2 separate regions of the Homo sapiens genome follow, and region 1 is linked to region 2. The links are contacts of gene promoters, found by promoter capture Hi-C in human tissues and cell types (Jung and others, 2019). All regions are on one chromosome and are shown on one strand. Each heading gives the region's core, a stretch centred on a gene start or on the middle of the fragment in contact. The rest is flanking DNA. Distances are from core to core; before and after follow the strand shown.

Region 1 (6,696 bases), core at 3,381-5,880, 620 kb before region 2:
GGAGGCAAAGCCTACAAGAGTGTGAGCCTCTTTACACATGTTCCCAGAGGTTTCACTCTCATACACTTGCATTCAATATTTAACAGTTAATTGAAAACCTTTAGATGTATCTTTGTATAGGCTTCTATGGAGTCTTATGGCATGTGTTCCAGAAGCAATTTTGCAGTCAGAATCTTTCTGCCTGCAAATGCCTGTCTCTCCCTGGAGTTTTGGTTATTTGGTTGCTCTGGGATTTTAGTTATTTGATGGCTTAAAAAAGAATTAATTTTCAGATTGCCTAGCTTTTTCCTGCTTGTAAAGACTGGAATAATGTGCTTTATCACCCAAAACGAAAGTCCTCTGCCTCTGCTTTTGTGACCTTGTTCATACACTTAAAACCTCCCGGCTAAGGCATCAAGGCCTTTCCTTACGAAGGGCTTAGTCACTAGATGACCTCTAAGGGACTATCCAACACTAAAATTTGGGGATAAAGAACATTTACAAAAATCTACTTCAGAAAGTTTGGAAAGCCCTTCACTCCCATTTCTATGAAATGTGCAATTTCATAAAAAATCAGAATTCTTTATTTACTCTGTAATTATTTGTTTTTAATAATAACATTTTTTCTTCCATCATGAGACAAAAATGTGTGGTGTCAAAGAATACATTTCTATTTGATGTACATCCACATCCACATGCAAACATATACATGCATACTCATTGGAATCAGGAATTTAGATCATATTCCAAGAGGGAACACATGCTGGGGCCATCTGTCTTCTGTAAAATGTAATGTAAGAAAATGGGTGCAGTCATATTTACTGAATAAAAAGTGTTCTGGCACTTAATCAGGATGCATAATGTAAATAGAACATTTGTGGAATATTAAATAAAGTTGCTCTTTATTATCTTGAATTTCCAGAAGGACTTATACTTTGTTAATTTCTTAGTCACTTATTTCCATCTATTGCAGAAAGGACCAAATAGATTACATTAGTACTGCAACTATATTAAGGCCTTACAACTTATTGCATCTTTTAAGTAACTGAAAACATATTTAGCAAGAAAATATTTCCAACATATCACTCACTCAGTCAGCCTTCAAATATATACATCATATCAGATAATCTTTTATTAAGTAGCAAAATTTTCTTGCAAAAAGAACAAAATTGAAAATATAAAATTTAATGTGCATAGTATACATTTTTATATTTAATAAAATTTTAGGTTTTATTGTTCTATATACTAATTTTACGAATGAATAAAGTATGACACACATGCTGACATTTGTGAGTAATTTTTCTTTACAAATTTTATAGTTGCATAAAATAATCTGTTTTATCCCCATGTGTTCATAAACTCTTACACCGTTTATAGTTTAAATGATAAAGCAACATATAAAGGAGGGTGAGAAATACATAATGAAGCTTCTGAAGTAAATCAGTTTAAGGGTCTACTTCCCACTACTTATTATTCATTAATTTGTCCAACTTGGATATTTTACTTTTGAAAGTAATATGTTAAGTCAAATTGAAGACTATTTTGACATTAGAAAGTTTGAGTGCCATGTAAAGTTGTTCTGTTTCTAACTTGAATCATATATACATAAATACATATTATATATAACAATTTTATTTAACTTAATTTTTATTTTTAGTTTGTAAATAGGTGTATTTGTGGAACTATTGTGGAACTATTCTGTTGTAGGTAGATAACCGTTTCTTTAAAAGCTAACTAATAACATTAGAATAAGTGTGAAGAATATTAAAATTCTTTTATGAAAACTTGAAACTGATGCTTGTAATAAGTTGCTTTAACTGGCTAAGTTAATTTCCACTTTTATTTTTTATAATGTGTTTTACCAGATTGATGGGAAATACTAACTTTTTTTTTTTTTTTTTGAGACAGAGTCTTGCTCTGTCGCCCAGGCTGGAGTGTAGTGGCACCATCTCGACTCACTACAACCTCCGCCTCCCGTGTTCAAGTGATTCTCCTGCCTCTGCCTCCTGAGTAGCTGGGATTACAGGCACCCACCATCATGCCTGGCTAATTTGTGTATTTTTGTAGAGATGCAGTTTCAACATGTTGGTCAGGCTGGTCTTGAAATCCTGACCTCAGGTGATCTGCCCACCTCGGCCTCCCAAAGTGCCGGGATTACAGGTGCGAGCCACCACGCCTGGCTGGGAAATACTAACTTTTAAATCTCACAATTCTCATCTGATAAATAAACTCATGCTATCATTACCCATCCATAATTTTATAATAAATACAACGTTTAAATTATATACACTTTTCTCTGTATCAGTTGTGAAGTAAGTTTCGCTAGGGTGCAGTTAACAAAAATACCTCCTCGTCTCTCCTACAGGTATTCTCATCTTTGTCATCAGTAAGAAAATTCCTCTATGTGGGTTAGTGGCAAACTTTTTAGTATAAAACTCCTTTGAGATGAGGGTGCCAAGGAAATATAAGCAGGAGCCCTTTGATGAGGTTTTAGAAAAAGCACTGTAATTTCTTGTAATTTAGTTGAGGGGGCATCACTTTACTGCTCTTGTCCCATTCTCATTCTAGCTCCCTCAAACAAGACTGGACAAGGCTATAGCAGCCGTGTTGAGATCATAATATATAAGGCTCAGAAAAGCACAGAGACTTGGTCCTAATATCCTGAACCACTGAAAAAATGACAGAAACTGCCCACTGTGAACTTGATATGGTTTGGCTCTGCGCCCCCACCCAATTTTCATGTCAAATTGTAATTCCCAATGTTGGGGCAGGGACCTGGTAGGACATGATTAGATCATGATGGCAGATGTCCCCCTTGCTGTTCTCATGATAGTGAGTTCTCACAATATCTGGTTGTTTAAAAGTGTGTAGCACCTTCCACTTTGCTCTCTCTCCCCTGCTTCATCATGTAAAGATGTGCCTGCTTCCCCTTCGCCTTCCGCCATGATTGTAAGTCTCCTGAGGCTGCTCCAGCCATGCTTCCTGGGCAGCCTGTGAAAGAGTGAGTCAATTAAACCTCTTTTTTTCCATAAATTACCCAGACTCAGGTATGTCTTTATAGCAGTGTGAGAATGGACTAATACAGGGCTTCTTGTTATAGGAGAAAAATAAACCTTTTAATGTGTAGGCTATTGCAATTAGGTTTTTGAAACTAGCAGTCAACTACAGTTTTTTATGTAAATGTGTGATGATCCAAATATGAATGAAAATAATACACTTCCTCTAGGCAATATCTGACATTAGATAATGAACAATTCCTATCACCCAAGTCAAATCTTGAAAGCTACTTGTTTATGTTATTTATTAACTTTGTTTCTGTTGCCTACATGTCACATGCAATGCCATTATATCTTTAGTATATTTGTTGCTTATGTTTTCCCCATATTTTATTTCAGAAAAAAAAATCATATAAAATCTTTCGTGAATTTACTCATGATAAACTGTGTTTCATGCCTCAGAACAAATAAAACTGTTTCTTCCTAGATCAATTTTCTATTATTGGCTTTTGTATATCATACACAGGTGTGCTATTTGGAAGGCACTAGAGGAATTCAGCATGTGTTATATTGTAGTAACGGTGTGAATGTCTTCATTAAAAGGTTGCCGTTGCTAATAGAGATGGATGAGTTGGAGGAAAAGCTTACTTTATTTTAATCTATCAACTGGTCCTATATTTAATGGCAACTTTAGGAGCAACACTTATTTGTAAAGCCAAATGGAATTGTTGACGGTGATAATTTCCTTGATGAGTGAGAAAATGCTTTGTGTGTGTGTGTGTGTGTGTGTGTGTGTGTGTGTTTTAAATAAGATAATTTGGCACATTCTACCAACCACTGATTAATATAATATCCCACAAAGAGTCATGGTTGGGAGATTTTTCTGTCTTTTATTTATAATTTCTCTTGGGAGTAAGTTACGTAACATTTGTTAATGATTACCTCAGATCACAGTAAGATTAAAAGAAATTATAGGCTTATTTCTCTTTTTCTTCCATAGACAGGCTGGGCTACTTTCTTTCAAAATGTCTATAGTCATTGATGAAAACTCTTAACATTAAATCTCAAAATGCTTTTTGAGAATTTACACTTGTTTGAGATACTCTATATCTTGTGTAAAATAAAAATTACATGGATTTGTTTCAGCCTCAATACACATTATAGAAGAAATATTGTAACAGGGGTTGATTATCTTGAAGCAGAAACATAAAGAGCCATAGATTTAGTTTGAATTCTGATTACCACATATGAAATTTTGAGCATAATACTTAAATATTTATAATATACAAAATACATTTTAAAGTGGCTCTTAGGACTTACTTGGTGCTCAAATGCAGATTAGGGTGTCTTCAATCCTAGCTTTAAATTCTGGCTCTATTTCTCAATAATCTGTAGGGCATGGACAAGACTGTTTTCTCATGAGTAAAATTCAGCTCTAAAGGGTATTAACTATTGTTCTATAGAGTTATTGTTAGTTTTAGATTAAATAATAGATTTAAGGAACTTAGTACTATAGATACCACTTATTAAAATCCAATCTATGCAAATTATATTTATCAATAAACAATATTTTATAACTACAAACTACTTGATACTTTAAATAAGTGCTTTAAGTGTACTATTTGTGTTAAACTTATACGTCTATTAAGTAGAAAATAAATACTTTTATTATCCTCATATTTAGAGAGAAGGAAACTGGAGAACATTAGCTGCAGTATCAGGTTAATGACACAGTGTCAAATGATCCGATTCTAGTATTACAGGCTCTTGATCCTCTTAAAATTACCTTCACAATCTTGCCTTAATGGTCTTAATGGGAATGCTCTTCTCATCCATCTTCTGAATGTCATAAAATTCCAGGACTCAAAAAGCCATACAGTATTGTCTTATTTAAAAAATAAATGACCAAAATCTCATTATTTATTGTGGTTCCCTACTTCCAGCTTATTCATACTCCAAACTCTACCCCCAACATAGCTTCTACAAGGTCTGTGGGCACAAAAATTTCTGGTACTCTCCGTGACGTTCTAGTTCTTTCAATCTTGGAATACATTTTAAAAATAAGGAACAACAAAGTGAAACAAAACACTTTTCTACTTACAATGATATATTTGGTATTAGATTTTCCTCATTTGTGAAAGTTGGGCAATTAGACGAAAGAGGGAGGACAAATGAGCTGTTTGCTGTTTTATTAAGCCTATTGTATAGCTATCACTTGACTATATATAAAAGAATGTATAAAATGGATTCACATTTGGTATGTCAGACATCACTTCAAAAATCCATATGGCCATATAATATTTATATAATGCATCAATATGTTTTCTAATCACATTAGCTATAAAGTTACATATAAAAGTGATTCAATCTTTGTGTAAAAATTTAAAACAAATCAGAAAAAGTAGAACAATCTAGCAGAAAATGATAGATGTTGCTTTTATATATTTACCTCTTCTTCTTAAATTTGTAATTAAAATTTATAGGTATCTATGTGGACTCTTTGAGAAATGTTTTAATATAGAGATAGCTATTTCTCCAACTATTAAAACAACAGTCATGTGAAAAATATAAGGAAATTATCTTATTGATAGGACTGAGTGAAATCAGTATGAAATGTTGCCAATGGAATGCAATGCAAAATTTTTAATTAAATTTTATTATTCAAAAATTTGTTTTAAGGGATATCTAGATACATTGAGCTCCTGTGTATCAGGAACTAAAAAAAAAATTTGGCAGGTGAAGAATAAGTCCTGGAGCCAACCCTTGGTATGAATTTCTTAACTACATACCTAATCAGAATATTTCAGAGCTGGAAGAATCTTCAATGGTAATCTTCTCCATAATGTAATACAGAATACTGAACCCCAGAAATGATAAATGATTTGTACAAAGTCATACACTCGAAACAGAATAGGTTGTCTGAAACTCTGTTGTGTGTTGATAATTGCGATTTGAATGTACGTGGACTCACAGGACTTAAGAAAGCTTCTGCCTTCTTAAGTCAATTGCTTACAGTTATAGAAAGAAATAATATGGCTAAATAGTACATTTCTTTTCATCTCCCAGTATAATATGTTTCTTAGACTATTTTCAAGGTAATTTAACCTAATGGCCACCACCACTAATGTCAATAACTTTTAGCAAAACTTTATATAAACCTTGATTCAAACTTTTATAAGGCTACAAAGTCTGTTTTTTTTGAAACCATTTTCTTCATTTTTTAATTTTTGAACCACTTTTTAATTAATTTAATATTGAATCTTTCATTACTTAGCAACATCCTTCAAACTAAATAAAAGCAAAGGGAAAAAAAGAAGCAAAGTAAAAGCTTTCAAATAAAAAGAAAGCATTTTTAACATAACAAGTTCTAAATTCAAAGAATTGTGTGTTATTCTTTAGGTAAGTTCTTAAAGTACCTCTTTAAACAACACTGATTATTACCACACCTAGAGGCTCAGTTTTCAAAAATAAAATATCACAATGAAAACTTCTGGAAGGAACTTCATAAGGGAGTCCGTCTACCTAACCTAAAAACAGATCTTGGGAAACAAAATTAGAAGGTGTGAAAAACATTTTGAACTCTATTTCTTACACCAAAATGCCAAATAGTGGCACTACAAGTGGAAAAAGAACACCAGCTATATTTAATATCTTTCATATTAAAAAAAAAGTTGGGCATGGAAATAAAGCAATTACAGATAATTGTAACTTTCTAAACTAC
Region 2 (6,642 bases), core at 66-2,565:
CTCTATCCAAAGAGGGTATTTATGGGGTTGATTGGTTGTGAGTCCAAACCAAGGTTATAGAGATGGGGCAGCATGAGACACAAGAAAGAGCCTTGGTCAGATTTGAGAAACCTGAGCCTTTCCTTAGCCTGACTCTGCCATCAACCATTTATAACTTAAAATGACTCCTTTAGCTTCTGTGGCCCTCAGCCCTCTGCCACAGATAAAAGGTCAAATGAAGAATGTCTTCCACCCCTTTCAGTTATTCCATTACTGCATTTGTCTGTTCACCATCTCCAAATCAAGATATCTCTTGTTACTTGCTAAGGAAGCTTTGGGACCCTACACCTTGTGCTCTTAAATCAAGCTGACAAATGCAGGATCCCGTGGCTGCTTGCTTTCCATGTCTCTACCTCATGTCAGATTTATGTTTGGGACTAAGGGCAAGGTGTGTGACTATAAACCTGGATATCCCATCACAAAGGATTTACCATGCAGCTAAAAATGCCTAACGTACAGGGCTCACCAAATGCACAGGCCTTTTTAATGTCCCTGACGGTGGCCTCATGAACTCTCATTGTCATATATTTTTGCAGAATCTGTAGAAGTGAGATATTTCTGCATTACTTTTGCTTAAAGAGGATCCTCTATTCCAATTGCATAGGATCCAGGTTCATCAAAACTTAGATCTTCTCGTCATTATATACTTCTAAGTTCCTACTGTGTGAATAAGGGGTGCAAAAATCTAAAAAACTCCCGAAGACAAGGATATGAGGCACACCTCTTTGTAGGTCTGGCGTAAGGGAAAGAGGAAGAAAGGATTACATTCTACTCGTTTTTATCTCTCCCTGTTTGGTCTTAATCGGGTGCCAGCCCCTTAACGGAGGGTTGATCCCTGTTCCTCATCCCTATGCCTGCCTTGTCAAGGCCATTAACCGTGGATTGAGGTTTTACATAGTGGAACGCAGGTACTGTTTTGTGGGATTAGCATTTTTAGGACGGTGTTTGTGGTCACTCTCCCTGTTTCTTCCTCATGGGGTCCCTTAACAGGTTTTATGGTATAGAGAAGGAACTAAAGAAGTCCCCAAGTCACCCAGAAGGAAGATCAGACGTTAGAGGTTGCTTTACACATAGGGTGCCCTGTCCTGATAAACATCCGTCAGCGCTTGGCCAGGGCTACCTCTAAATCCACGCTGCTGGCAGCCTCCGCGCAGCAGGGATGAACTTCTGCACGCTTGGGAGTTCTGGCGTGCGCAGTGGAAGGAGGGGGCGAGGGCTGGGGGAGGAGATCGGAAGGGGAAAGGTAATCCCCGGCGTTTTCAGCATCCTCTTTTTAGAAAGACTGAGTCTCTCCCAGGACAGCTGCTGCGGTCACACCACAAACTTAAAAGCCGCCCTCCTGTTTGGAGCGTGCCTTTCCTCGCCACCCTCTCCTCCCCAAAGCTCCAGCTGGTGCCTTGCTCTCCGCCTGTCCTAGCGCGGCTCTCGGGGGAGGCAGCAGCGCCCCCTGCCTCCCGGCCTGGCCCCTGCGGCCGCAGCTTCCCGGCTCTGCCAGGGCTGCCGGCGGCTCCGCTTGCTCAGCCAGGGCTGCGGCTCAGAGGAACGCGCGCCGGTGCCCCGGGTTGCCGCGCCGCTGGACCTCAGCCTGCATCCCGTTCCCCTCTCCCTGAAAAGGCACCAGGAAAAGAGAGAGGGAGAGAAGAGTTCACAGCAGGTAAGTCTGGTTTGGGTCACCTGCTACTCCAGTGGGAGGGTGTGCTGGAGACCGCGGTGCTAAGCGGGGATAGCCGGGATTTGGGGGTGGCTGTGGGTCCGAAGTGGAGGACGAGCATGGTTTGGGAGATAAGGAACCGTCCTGAGACAGAGAAGGCTCCCGGGAGCGGACAGAGAGTGGGCGAAATCGGTGCGCAGTAATCGCGGCGCCAGCTTCAGCGCGGCCCCTGGGGCGCAGTCCCACCCCGCCTCAGCAGCTGCGGAGCCTTCTGACGAGCCTCCGCCTGGCAGCACTGCACAAAGTTTTCCTCCTGAGACGCGTCCAGGAACTTTGCTCTCTCCCTGGCTTCCTGGTTCCCCCACCACCCCTCCTGGTCTGGGCAGCAGAGAGCGTCTATGAATGTGTCCCCGGCTTCCGCAGGCTGCAGGTTCATTTGGAGACGCTTTAGTCGGGAACATCCGGGGAGTACTTGACCAAAGGGCATCTGCGCCCTCGCTCGCTCCTTTCCTTGTTGGTCTGGGAGAAGGGAAAGGGGCAAGGAAGAAGGAAGGGAAGCGTGGTGGTTTTTGTTGTAGCGTTTTGGAAGAGGAATGGGCGACGCCTTTTTCTTCGCCGGGGAATCGCGACGTTCCGTCTGATGGAAGTGTGCATCCTTTTAGATTTAGAGGGAAAGTTGGAGTCAAACAGCAGCCACAAAGCTGGCTGTCTGAAATGTGGTTAAGGCAAAACACTCGGGGGATCTCTTTGTAGTAGTGGGCTTGGCTCGCTTTGGAAAGGCCGGATTTGACTCGTGCTGGGCATTTAACCAGGAGTGCGGTCCCCAGGGTGTTTCCTCCCGGCTTCTGCCCAACGAGCCTGGAGTTAATGCGTTAATGGGCTACCCTGGTAGCGCACGGGCCGTTTTCGGCACTGTTTCTCCTTCTCTGATGACTCGAGTTCAACCTCCTGGGCTGAGTTGCTTTGCCTCCGTCACAGTGCAAGGAGGGAAGTTGACAGGAGGAGGAGACGCCGCGCTGTGGCAGGGAGCTTTGGGATCCAGGGGACTGGAAGAGAGCCGCGCGCCAGCAGCTGGGGCCGCTGGTGTCCGGGATTCCGAGTTATGGGGACAGGAGTTAAATAGCCGAACTTTCAGCGATTTCGCCTCGAGCGAAGCGGTAATAAAAGGCAAGCTTCTGTGCGTGGACTCTTATTTCATCACCAAAACCCCACCACTTTCCGTTTAGCTTAGTGCTATTTGCACAAGCAAAAGAAGAGGGGAGAAGACCTAAACTTTCCGGTTTAGCCTAAAAAGGGTTCTCCTGCATGTGTGCGCTAGCGGGGGATGGCGGGGTGGGGGCGCGCAGAGACGAGGGGGAGGATCTCCTAACAGAGAGGGAAGGGTTGAGGCGGAGGTAGAGGAGAGGTCTGAGACATCTCCTGGGTCTGGTGCTGCTGCTATTGTGTAACCATGGCAACCGCGGGGGCAGGGGTGGTCAGAGCCTTCCCAGTTCTGCACGTGGAAAGAAAAATGTGAAGGGCAGAGAAGGGAGAGAGCCACATGTCATCACTCCAGTGATGCCTTGCCTTCTCCTTTTTGTTCTCCTTTTCCTTCTCCTTTTCCTTCTCCTTTTCCTTCTTCTCTGAGGCCAGATAGCAAGGAGGATGAGCAAGAAGACACACATGTCATCACTCCAATGATGCCCTCCCTTCTCCTTTTCCTTCTCCGAGGCCAGACAGCAAGGAGGATGAGCAAGAAGATCGGGGTTGGGAGTGATCAGCCCCAGCTGGCCACTGCTTTAACCCAGTCGGGTCTTAGAGTCTCTGAGACTCGCCCCAGCGGATAAGACGGGTCAGGGGTGCCATCGCTGACAGGCGCAAAGTGATGGCCCTGGTCAGGGAGATGGGCAATGACCTTGGCTCTTGGAAGGGAAAGGCCAGGAAATACAGGAAGGTGATGTGGGACGAGATAAGAGTAGGGTCAAGGGCTGACAGACAGTAAAACAGTACTGATTCGAATTGCCAAAATTTCCAATGGAATTTGCCCAATTGTGAAATGGAAAGTTCCTAGAGAAGGGAAGAAACATTTATCAAACACCTATTGTGTTTCAGGTGCTGTGAACTTTATCACAATTAATATCCTCAACAATATGATACAAGTGTCATTATTCTCTTATTCTTTTCTTTTTGAACAGAAAAGAAAAAAAAAACAAAGACATAAAGATTTATAAATGGGTATTGTCCCATTTTGGCTTTTATGTTCTTAATGAAGAACCGTAATTCTTAAAAAAAAATTGTATTGCTGGGGGAATAAGCTAGGTAGTTATTATTTTAGAGATGATAATAAATGAGATGCAAAAATGTTGCTTGATGTGCCCAAATATAAGCTAGTAAGGGCACGAACTGAGATACGAACTGTTTTACCTGGGTGTGGGTCTCCTTTCAGAAACTTCAAGAAAGTTGTCATGACCCCACTTAATGGGAGGGCTTTCTAAGGTCAGTTATGATGCTGTATCTGTATCTGTTATCATTTACATGTGGAGAACACTCAAAATTTTAAATGCAATTCATGGTTGAGAATGAGAATGAACCACATCAAATCGATAAGCCCAGAATCGTATGTATGTGATATTAATGATCTATTCATACCTACAGGTTTCATTTTCCTTTGTAGGAATTATTAGTTTCTTTAACAATGTCCGTAAAGGAAAAAAAAAAGAAAAAGAATTTATCAAACAGAAATCCCATGGTTGTATTAAGAACATTTCCTGAGATTAGTTAGGTTTTCCTCAGTCTACTTATTGTCCTCATGACCTGAATACCTAAAAATTTACTTCGTATTTCAGTACCATTGGTTCACTTTTGTAGTTCACTCTGGTTACTTTCCTGTTGATGTTCTGAGATGGGAGGTTAAGAAAAAGTATCTGGCAATGTAAAATGTTTTGGAATTATCGGGAAACTATCATCAACACTAGCAGAAACTAACGATAAAAGATAGAAAAGTAATTGCTGTGGCTTTCTTTTGCCTTTCACCAGAATTGCCTTCATAGGTAAGTCTTTACTAATGATTTGCTTTATATTTTGCAGAGGAAAAATACACAAAGAAAAACTGAATTTGTAATCTCTCTTTTATGTGTGGGGAAGACTAGTAAGCGTGGGAATGGGAATTATTTTTGGTGGCAGGGAAGGTCAGGAATATGAACAACTAGAAAGGCAGAGGAAGCATATCTTCTACTGTTTCCGACAGGCTAACAGACCGGACTTCAGGTTTGAACTTGAGTCACCAAGCTGATTTACTCTCACATATTTTTCTTTTCCAAAACTAAAAAGGATATTGCTTGGGGTTGAAGTTAAATTAATTCAAGAAGTTTCATAGTCTCCAGTTATTCTTCATACTGTGCTCTCAATCCATTGCATGGATATTTGTTAACTATCAAAAGGGTTATCATAAACCAGAGGTGTCTCTGAAGATAACTTCGGGGGTTGGCAAGCATCTCTGTGTCTCAGTGTCTGTTTACTGTGTTAACAAAGCTACTGGGCTAACTCATTACTATTTTTATTATGCCTGTGTAATATCAAATTCTCAATCTCAAGGGGAAGACATTCTGACTGGTGCTAGTTTAATGAATATTATGTCTTCGGGTTGTTTGTTATAACTTCATTATTTTGGAAAAGCAAATGTTGACTCTGAACTTTGCTGTTCTGTCTGGGCGGTTCAATACATTGCTGACACATGTTCCTTCAGAATCATCCTTGTCAATTAATAAATAATTTTCTTCATGAACAAGAGTAGCCATAGGCTTGTTTTGAAAAGTTATTATTATTCTTCCTCTAAACATCTGGAGTGGTACAGAGTACTTAAGTAAAGTAGCATTTCAACACTCCATAACATAATCCTTGAAAGGAGAAACAAATATTCACATTTGTGGAATAAGTCATAATAACAATAATAATAATGATGATTTACTATGGGCAATAACATTGATCACATTCCTTCCCACCTCAAAATGTGGTTTTAAAGCAATTCCCTTTCTCCAGGAAACATGGCCAAAATCCTTTTTAATTTTTATACATTTGCCATACCTGTCAAGCTAATAGTCTATTTTCAAACATTTGTATTCTTTACTTTTTCTGTTGTTATGATCTCTTACTAGGTAATAAGAATCTTGAGGGTAGGAATTTGTCTTCCCTAATTTTTTATACCTTCATGTTGTTCAATGCTGAACAAATTCTAAATACTATTGAAGTATAACCAATTGTTTAAGTAGGTAATAGTGATCTTGAATCTTTTTATTGACTGTAAAGTCAAATTAAAGATTTTGGAGTTTATAATTTACTTTCCCTGAGATTTTAGCAAAAAGTGTTATTTCTAATATTAGGGCTTTACCCCTCATAAAAAATTGTGAGAGACTGGGAGTTTTATGATAATGCATAACATACAGGAATAGTGTAATGATCAGATCAGATAGAGTATATAAGAATACTAATTAAAAATTATTTAAAAATTGTTTGTAATTTTTGGAAAGGCCCAATTAATAAAGATATGTATACACAATCTATGTCCATGTTAATTCATCCTAAATTTAAATACCTAAATAATAACTAAAAAAAAGATAAAAGAAAAGAAGAATTCACCATAACCAAGAAATACGCTGATAAACAATTGCAACACTTTTGAGATTATTTTGAAACTTGAGTGATATTAAGATTAGTAGACATTTATACATAGGTAAACACCTATACATAGGTAAGTCATGTTAAAAAGCTGACATTATAATGAAGTATACTGTTTATGTTTGCATTTTAATAATTTTGATGATTTTCAATCCATCATTATTAATATTGGATGCTTTAGTTCCATGTTCATGTTTCATAATTTTAACAGCCATCAACCAGGTCATCTTTAACTAGCATGCTAATCTTTCACTGGTCAGTTTATTCAGTTTGCTCACTCATTTGCAAAGCTCAATAAG

The links. The method cuts DNA at HindIII sites, captures the fragments that hold promoters and counts their contacts. A contact is called where the count stands out against the background at its distance.
Region 1: a fragment that was not itself captured here is called in contact with the fragment with the promoter of SEMA3D in region 2 in 5 of the 25 tissues and cell types used here (IMR-90 fibroblasts, aorta, bladder and 2 more).

The regions. Positions count from the first base shown.
Region 1 is chr7:85,809,788-85,816,483 of GRCh38, reverse strand. No RefSeq gene overlaps it. Among named protein-coding and RNA genes, the nearest start is that of LINC00972, 390 kb to the right of the region's middle. The HindIII fragment of the contact is 4,236 bases long and covers 2,513-6,696 here.
Region 2 is chr7:85,181,729-85,188,370 of GRCh38, reverse strand. It overlaps SEMA3D (semaphorin 3D), which reads left to right and starts at 1,315. Exons shown (of 19, transcript NM_001384900.1): 1 at 1,315-1,693. RefSeq lists a silencer at 1,444-1,503. The HindIII fragment of the contact is 9,968 bases long and covers 1-6,642 here.